Regions from separate parts of the Homo sapiens genome. Here region 1 is linked to region 2. The links are contacts of gene promoters, found by promoter capture Hi-C in human tissues and cell types (Jung and others, 2019). All regions are on one chromosome and are shown on one strand. Each heading gives the region's core, a stretch centred on a gene start or on the middle of the fragment in contact. The rest is flanking DNA. Distances are from core to core; before and after follow the strand shown. Region 1 overlaps METTL4 (methyltransferase 4, N6-adenosine). Region 2 holds the start of EMILIN2 (elastin microfibril interfacer 2).

What was found. Contacts are between HindIII fragments. The study calls those that stand out against the background at their distance.
Region 1: a fragment that was not itself captured here is called in contact with the fragment with the promoter of EMILIN2 in region 2 in 3 of the 25 tissues and cell types used here (H1 embryonic stem cells, lymphoblastoid cells and spleen).

The regions. Positions count from the first base shown.
Region 1 is chr18:2,562,191-2,566,563 of GRCh38, reverse strand. METTL4 (methyltransferase 4, N6-adenosine) reads left to right here. Exons shown (of 9, transcript NM_022840.5): 3 at 2,705-2,767. Among named protein-coding and RNA genes, the nearest start is that of METTL4, 7.1 kb to the left of the region's middle. The HindIII fragment of the contact is 6,769 bases long and covers 1-4,373 here.
Region 2 is chr18:2,844,749-2,848,788 of GRCh38, reverse strand. It overlaps EMILIN2 (elastin microfibril interfacer 2), which reads right to left and starts at 1,783. Exons shown (of 8, transcript NM_032048.3): 1 at 1,467-1,783; 2 at 858-980. The coding sequence starts at 1,600. RefSeq lists silencers at 806-895, 1,516-1,565. The HindIII fragment of the contact is 15,158 bases long and covers 1-3,884 here.

The DNA.
Region 1 (4,373 bases), core at 1,055-3,554, 280 kb after region 2:
ACCCAGACAGCAAAAAAACAAACAAAAAGCCAAACAAAAAACTCCCCCAAAACCCTTTTCTTGATTAGGCATTTGTATTAATTGAATATGTTTACAACTGTTTTTGCTTTAAAAAAAAAGTTTTTCTACAAAATTTCTAAGCAGTAAGTGGTATTTCGGAGGTTTTTAGAGAGCTATCCCTTGGAGATACGTAATAAAAGTTTGTAAGAAGGGTGATTGTTTTAAAAGTTTCTAGTGATACAAGTAGAAAGCTCCTGTGGTAAATATACCCGTTTGTAAAGTATATGTATTTGTATATTCACACTGGTGCAATCTTTTAGTAGAGTTTTGGGAATGCCATACAGGATCAAATTAATTATGCTTTAATACTTTTTATCTCTTTCAGGAATTTAGAGGTGATTTTACAAAGTCCATTTTAGATATCTGATATCAGCATTGTCTTTTTTACTTATTTTTATTTATTTGTTTATTTTATTTATTTATTTATTTATTTATTTATTTATTTATTTATTTATTTGAGACAGAGTCTTGCTCTGTCACCCAAGCTGGAGTGCAGTGGTGCTATCTCAGCTCACTGCAAGCTCCGCCTCCCGGGTTCACGCCATTCTCCTGCCTCAGCCTCCCGAGCAGCTGGGACTACAGGCGCTTGCCACCACGCCTGGCTAATTTTTTGTATTTTTAGTAGAGACGGGGCTTCACTGTGTTAAGCCAGGGTGATCTTGATCTCCTGACCTCGTGATCTGCCCACCTCGGCTTGAGCCACTGCACCCGGCCTCAACATTTTCTTTTTTAGTGATAGGATTAACATTCATTACTCACCGAACAAACGTTTGAGCTCTTTCTATGTGCCATTGTATGCAGAGTGATGAAACAAGATAAACATAATCCCTCCCTGATGGATCTTATAATTCGGTGAAGAAGAAAGATATTAAATACGAAAGTTTGTTGAGAATTAGAATAAGGAAAGTAATAAAGAAAATACATTTTCTGAAATGGAACTTTTTAATATTGTGACTTTTTTCTTGTGCATATTCTTCTTTTTTTTAATTTTAATTTTAATTTTTAAGTTCACAGGTACATGTATAGGTTTGTTATATAGATACATTTGTGTCATGGGGTTTTGTTGTACAAATTATTTCATCACCCAGGTATTAAGCCTAGTACCCATTAGTTATTTGTCCTGATCCTTTCCCTCCTCCCATCCTCTGACCTCCATCTTCCAGTAGGCCCCAGTATCTGTTGCTCCCCTCTGTGTGTTCATGTGTTGATCCCCCTTTTTTTTTTTGAGACGGAGTCTTGCTCTGTTTCCCAGGCTGGAGCGCAGTGGCGTGATCTCGGTTCACTGAAACCTCTGCCTCTCAGGTTCAAGCAATTCTCCTGTCTCAGCCTCCCGAGTAGCTGGGATTATGTGTGTCCACCACCATACCCGGCCAATTTTTTGTATTTTTAGTAGACACCTTGTTGGCCAAGCTGGTCTTGAACTCCTGATCTCAGGTGATCCACCTGCCTCGGCCTCCCAAAGTGCTGAGATTACAGGTGTGAGCCACCATGCCCAGTCCCCTTTTTCCTTTCATCAAATATTTATTGATCATTTACTACGTGTCACACACAGAAAAGAAAATATTTAGCATTGTCCGAGGTCTTAGTAAAATAGTATGTTGTAATATAAGTAATTCAGATAATAACAAGCCTTTGTAAAGGACTTTATAGTTTACAGGGTATGGGCATTAATTTTTAATGTTTAATCTCTCAGGTTGGGTAAATTTCTTATAACATGGAAAAAAATAGATGAACCTATGTAATAAATGTAATCTTGATGACACCTTCTGATATGCTAAAGCAAATTATACAATATTAAGTCCATTTATTTATTTAGCCAACAGACATTTATTGTTAGCATGCTAAGAGTTTGACACAAGGTAAGCACTGGAGTTTCAGCCATAAAAAGTACTAAGTCCTTACTCTATATTGTTAGATATAGAACAGTGTCAATATAAATCTGATTCATACCTAACCCTCATCAGTCATAAGCACATTGGAATTTCTTTTGATGATAGCACCTGGCTAGTTTCTCTTCTCAGAAATAAAGGAAATTGAGAATAACTATACCATATATAAAGTGATAGATGGCACTGGTAACTTCATACGGTGTCATAGTTTCCTTGTATTTCATGGGTGCTGATGCTACACTTTATCATGTGGAACTAGTTCTTTTTTTTGAGACAGAGTCTCGCACACCATTCTCCTGCCTCAGCCTCCCAAGTAGCTGGGACTACAGGCGCCTGCCACCATGCCTGGCTAATTTTTTTTTTTTTTGTATTTTTAGTAGAGATGGGGTTTCACCATGTTAGCCGGGATGGTCTCGATCTTCTGACCTCGTGATCCTCCCGCCTTGGCCTCCCAAAGTGCTGGGATTACAGGCGTGAGCCACCGTGCCCGGCCAGAACTAGTTCTTATTAATAGCAGATAAAGCTGAGGTGACCTTTTACAATCCATTTTGTTTATGTTGTTGTTTTTAATTTACTTTGGGAAAGCTTACCTCCTCACTCCATACCCTTTGCATTGATTTTGACCTCAGTAGACAATTACTACTATTAATTATTAATTATTATTAGACAGATATAAGACATAAATAATGTTATAATGAAAAAGCAAAATATTAATGGCAACATAACTTTTCCCCTGTAATTGATCTACCCTTTAGAAGCGTAAAAGATGTGTTGTTTTCAATCAAGGTGAATTGGATGCTATGGAATACCATACAAAGGTAAGTGTAAAATGTTCATTGATCACATTGGAAGATTAATGTGAAGTAGTAGAAAATAAATGGACAACATAAATAAGGATTTTTTTTCAAAATCAAGCAATCATTTTGATCAGGCTTAGCACTTAATATATTTATTGTTAATTTTATAGTAATGCACAGTTTAAACCAGTTTTGTCTTTTTTTTTTTTTTTTTTTTGAGGCAGAGTCTCATTCTGTTGCCCAGGCTGGAGTGGAGTGGTAGTGGTGTGATCTCAGCTCACTGTAGCCTCTGCCTCCTGGGTTCAAGCAATCTCATGCCTTGGCCTCCTCTGAGTAGCTGGGATTATAGGCGTGTGCCACCATGCCCTGCTAATTTTTTGTATTTTTAGTAGAGATGGTGTTTCACCATGTTGGCCAGGCTGGTCTCAAACTACTGAGCTCTGGCCATCCGCCAGCCTCAGCCTCCCAAAGTGCTAGGATTTTACAGGAGTGAGCGACTGCATCCAGCCTAAACCAGTTTTTATTGAAACTTCATGTACTTCTATTAGTTTAAATATTTAACAAAGTAAACTTATGCTATATTGGTTAAGTTTAGAGATTTTAGAGATTATAAAATCCTATTGTCTAGATAAAACAATATATTAAGAGAGTGGCAGAAGAGAGCATGAGTAATGTGAAGGATATGTTTCTAGAACATAGCGATAAATGAGATCAGAGAGTTAAAGAAATGAGAAGAAACAGAATGAACACAAATATTTTAAGCTTAATTTTTTTTTCCATGGAGCACCTTTGAAATGGCAAAATTCAGTCTGGAATTCGGTCTTGTTGAATTAATGTGATGGTAGAACCCTGGGTTTTTTTTCCCTTTCTTTCTTGTTGTAGTAGAATATACATAAAATTTTCCATTTTTAACCATTTTTAAGTGTAAAATTCTGCGGCATTAAATACATTCACAATGTTGTACCACACCACTGCTGTTCATCTCTAGTACTTTTTCATCATCCCAAACTGGAACTCTACCATTATTTAATAACTCCCCATCCCCCCGTCCCCCAGCTGCTGGTATCCTTTATTCTACTCACTGTCTCTGTGAATTTGCCTATGGTAGATATTTCATATAAGTGGAATCATACAATGTTCATCTTTTTGTATCTGGCTAATTTCATTTAGCATAATGTCTTCAAGGTTCATCCATGTTGTAGCATTTATCAGAATTTCCTTTTTAAGGGCGAATAATATTTCATTGTTTGTATATACTACATTTTGTTTATTCATTTATTTGTTCATGGTCATTTGGGTTGTTTCCACATTTTGGCTATTATGAATAATGTTTCTGTGAACATTGGTGTACAAGTATCTGTTTTGAGTCCCTGCTTTTTTTAGGTATATACCCAGAAGTGGAATTGTTGGATTAGCTTTTATGTTTAACTTTCATTTTTTCTTTTGAGACAGGGTCTCACCGTGTTGCCCAGGCTGGAGTGCAGTGGTGCAGTCATGGCTCACCGTGGCTTTGAACTCTTGGGCTCAAGTGATCCTCTTGCCTCAGCCTCCTGAGTAGATGGGACTACAGGCATGTGCCACCACGCTCAGCTAATTTTTTATTTTTTTGTAGAGATAAGGTCTTAAC
Region 2 (4,040 bases), core at 534-3,033:
CTTATTCTTAGTGGAAAACAATTAATTTCAGCCATCACATGTGTTCCTCAACAGCCATTTATTCACACTGGCCCATCTTCCGGTATCAGACTGATACAAAACCCCCAAAGACTTGCCTGATGACAATTGAATGAGTGTCATGTATTTAACGGCATTTGTACTTTATTGCATTGCTTCCTGTTTTTTTTTTTTTTTAAGATGGGGAAATCTTTATAAGCAAAAAGATGATTAATTCTTCCCCCTGTCTTTAACGGCCATTCTCTCCCACAATCTCTAGAGAATCTCCAAATCTAAGTTGCGGGGAGGGATGCTGGGGAGCCACACTTTTAAGCAAAGTGTTCCTGAGGTTTTAGCTTAGACATCTACAAAACTGGAAGATTCCGTTTTATGGGGACATACGGACAGAACTCACTCGTTTTAGAACACTACTTAGCCAAACCTCTCAGCGAATCCTATACGGAATAGTCTTTAGCAGTATACATTTTGGAATCTTCTGTGTGCCCCAGAACACACAATATGGATCCAATTAGATTCAGCTGCCTTATGTTACAAACAAACATTGAAAGGGAGAAAACAGAAGTGGGAGTGGGAGCTTTGTTCATCCTCTCCTACGCCCCCGCGACCCCACACTCCCGAGGCGCGCGCATCCTCCCCACTCACTCGGGCAGCACCCACTCCCTAAATAGCCCAGCGTGGCCGGTGCCCCGCGAGCGCTCGGAGCGCTTTTCCGCTGCGGGCTTTTCACCGGATCTGGAAGGGATTTACCGGAGGGACTGGAGCCCAGCGCAGCAACCCCACCCCACCCCCACCGCCCCGGCCCGGGCGCGCCCCGCCCGCTCCCCGGCTCCAGGACTTACACCAGCGCCGACGGACAGGGCATCTGGTTCCAGGCACAGTTGTACTGAGCCTGAATAAAACTCTCACTTCCCTCCAGCACGGAGCAGCTCACATTCTTGTTCACGATGTAGGCGCACCAGTTCCTGGGGTGCAGGAGAGAGAGGGAGAGGGGCACGGGGTAAACCCGGAGAACAATGAGGCCAGGGGAGAGGGGACTGCGGCACCAGACCGAGCGAGGGTCGGGGGGGCCCGTCGCCCTCTGCGGAGGCGGGAGCTTCACCGAGCAGACGCCGGAGGGTGCCCGGGTGCGCCTCTGGAGAGCGCGCGCCTGGACCCGACCAAGACGGGAAAGAAAAGCACCCATGGTCCCAGGGGCTCATGGAATTCCTGGGAGTCGTTTTCGGATCGCCCGGGTCTGCGGGACGCTCTCTGCGCCCACGCCCCCGGAGTCAGCTCTGCCTGAGGCGCCGGCTGCGGAGCGCGCGGTCCCCCGCAGAGGGAGCCGCCCGGGGAAGTCCAAGGGAGGCCCCCGGCTGCCGCTCGTCGTCTTTGGCAGGGCAGCTCTGGGGCTCAACTGGGGGCCGGGGAGGGGTAGGCGGTTTGGGGCCAGCCAAGGGGCGCGCACTTACTTGTTCCTGGCGCTGGGCCGCGCGGGATACCCGGGCTGCGGGCCGGCGTGGCACAGCCCCGCGCCAACCAGGGCCAGCAGCGCCAGCGCCCAGCGCCAGGGCACGCGGGGCCAGGGCCGTCTGGGCTGCCACATCCCGCGCGCAGCGGGCGCGCCCCGCCTGCCCGGGTCCGGAGCGCGGCGGATCGGGGCACCGGCCACAAGGCTGCCGGCGGCCAGGGCGCCGCCCGCGAAGGCAAGAGGCTCGGGCGCTTCGCGGCGCTCCAACCAGTGCTCCGCGGCCGCCCCCTCCGGCTTCTCGTTCCTACTTCTCCTTCTGCAGCCCCGTGCGCCCTGCGCTTCTCCCCGGTCCCTCAATGACGCACAGGTCCCCCCGGGTGCCGCCCTCTTTATTTCACTTCCCTCTCCGAAACGTGACTCTCCCCCCACCAAGTCTCCCCGTCTCCAGTCCCTTCGCTTCTCGGCAGGGGGCTCGGGGTGGAGGGGCGAAAGGGTTTGGGATAAGGGTCTACGTTACAGCATTTCCAATGACTCATTCCTTTGGTCTCTTCCCAGATGCCGAGCGACTCCGCCTCCCACCTTCCGACAGGCTCGCTCCCGGCCCCCCGGGACGCGGCCGCCGTCGGCGAGTCTGGCCGTCCTCGCGTCGTGCCTGGGTGCCAGCCTCCCGGGGCGAATGAGGGACATGTTTATCAGTCCCGCGGGGAGAGGAGTGGGGGCTCGACTCGAATTTCCTCCTCGGGCAAGACAGGGCCGTTCCCCCACCAGCTCCATGGACCTAGAGAGTCCAGGAGGAAACGAACGCTGGTTCTTTCTTTGCCCAACTCTGCCTTAGGCACCATCTGACAGTTTCCGAGGCCACGCGGGGGGCGGCAGGACAGGACAAGCCACAGCCCCGCCAATTCCCAGAGGCTGCTGCAGCTCAGCGTCCGGCTCTATCACTTACTGCAATTCTCCTCCAATTCTTGAAAGGTGATCTCACAGCCTCTGCTTCTGAGGTCCCACTGTGAACTTTCTTTTTCTATTGAAACTAAGGCATTTACTCACGTTTGCTTCTTAACAGTTCAGGCACTGCTAGACATCCGTCTTAAACTTTCTTGTATGTTTTCTGCCTGTTGTTGAGTTACACTAATCTCTACCGATGTCTTTTTGGGATGAAGTACCAGAATGTTAAGTAAAATCACCACCCAAGTGTTGTATTCTAAGGGGTGTTGGAGAGAGCTGTGTGTTTGAGATGACCTGCTGCATCTAATCAATGTACAGGGTCGTGAGTGGCGTGGTTACCAGACTCCACAGATAAAACTGTGGCCTCTGTGAGCTAACCAGACGCTGTTGGCCATGACTCGTTAAGTGAATAAAGCTTTGCTATGGGCCAGGCGGGGTGGCTCACGCCTGTAATCCCAGCACTTTGGGAGGTCGAGGCGGGTGGATCACCTGACGTCGGGAGTTCAAGACCAGCCTGACCAACATGGAGAAACCCCGTCTCTACTAAAAGTACAAAAAAAAAAAAAAAATTTGCCGGGCACGGTGGCACATGCCTGTAATCCCAGCTACTTGGGAGGCTGAGGCAGGAGAATCGCTTGAACCAGAGAGATGGAGGTTGCAGTGAGCCGGGATCTCACCACTGCACTCCAGCCTGGGCAAAAAGAGTGAAAATCTGTCGCAAAAAATAAAAAATAAAAACGTTTGCTATGTTCCTACTTTACTAAATGAAGCCATTGGTCTATTTTGTTTCTAATATTCTTTGATGGTGTTGTTGGACCTTTTGATTTGCAGATGAAAGAAAGAGAAGTCCCTAAGTAGAAACTACAAGGGCCAAGCAGAACATTATACCATGTAAGGACATCATCTGTCCCTGGACTCTTAAGCGGAAGATCATGCAAATAGTGGACTGAAGTCATCCCAGCCTTCAAAAGAGCCACCGTGGGGGGGAAATAACAGAAAGGGATAAAAAGCTGTCTTTCGTAACCCAATCTGTATCTTTCTGTGTGACTTCCCTATCCTGCCTGTCCTAACACCATCTTGGCCGTAAAGACTCATAGAGTAGAAACAGAGTATAGAAATGAAGAAGAGGAAGAGGGGGGGAAATGGGGGAAACACACAAGTTGTGTGTGTCTACAATTAGCAGAGAACAACTCCAATGTGTGTCTGGTACAGGTAAATCTCAAACTTGAAAGTGCATTGAACTGATCAAGTCAATCTGTTTTTTCCGTCAAATCAAAGTTATAATAGGAAGTTGTCTAAGAGTATAAGGGCCAACTTGTCATTGAGATGACCACAATACTATATTTAATCAGCTATCAATAACATTTATTGGTAAATAAATTTCATTCTGAGCATCTGTTACAAGCTAGGCATTGTGCAAAAATACTGAGGATTCATGAGTGAGCCCAAACTGACACGGGGCTTGTGTTTGGAGAGCTTCCAGGCATTGCCATGCAATGAAGGGTGTTAGCGTTCCTGATGGACAGTCAACTAAGTGAGCTAATGTTTATTGCATGTCTTTCTCTAGACATAAGCCCATGTATGTTATTGTGGGTCTGCCCCTGGAAGACAGAACATTCTTGACTTTCAG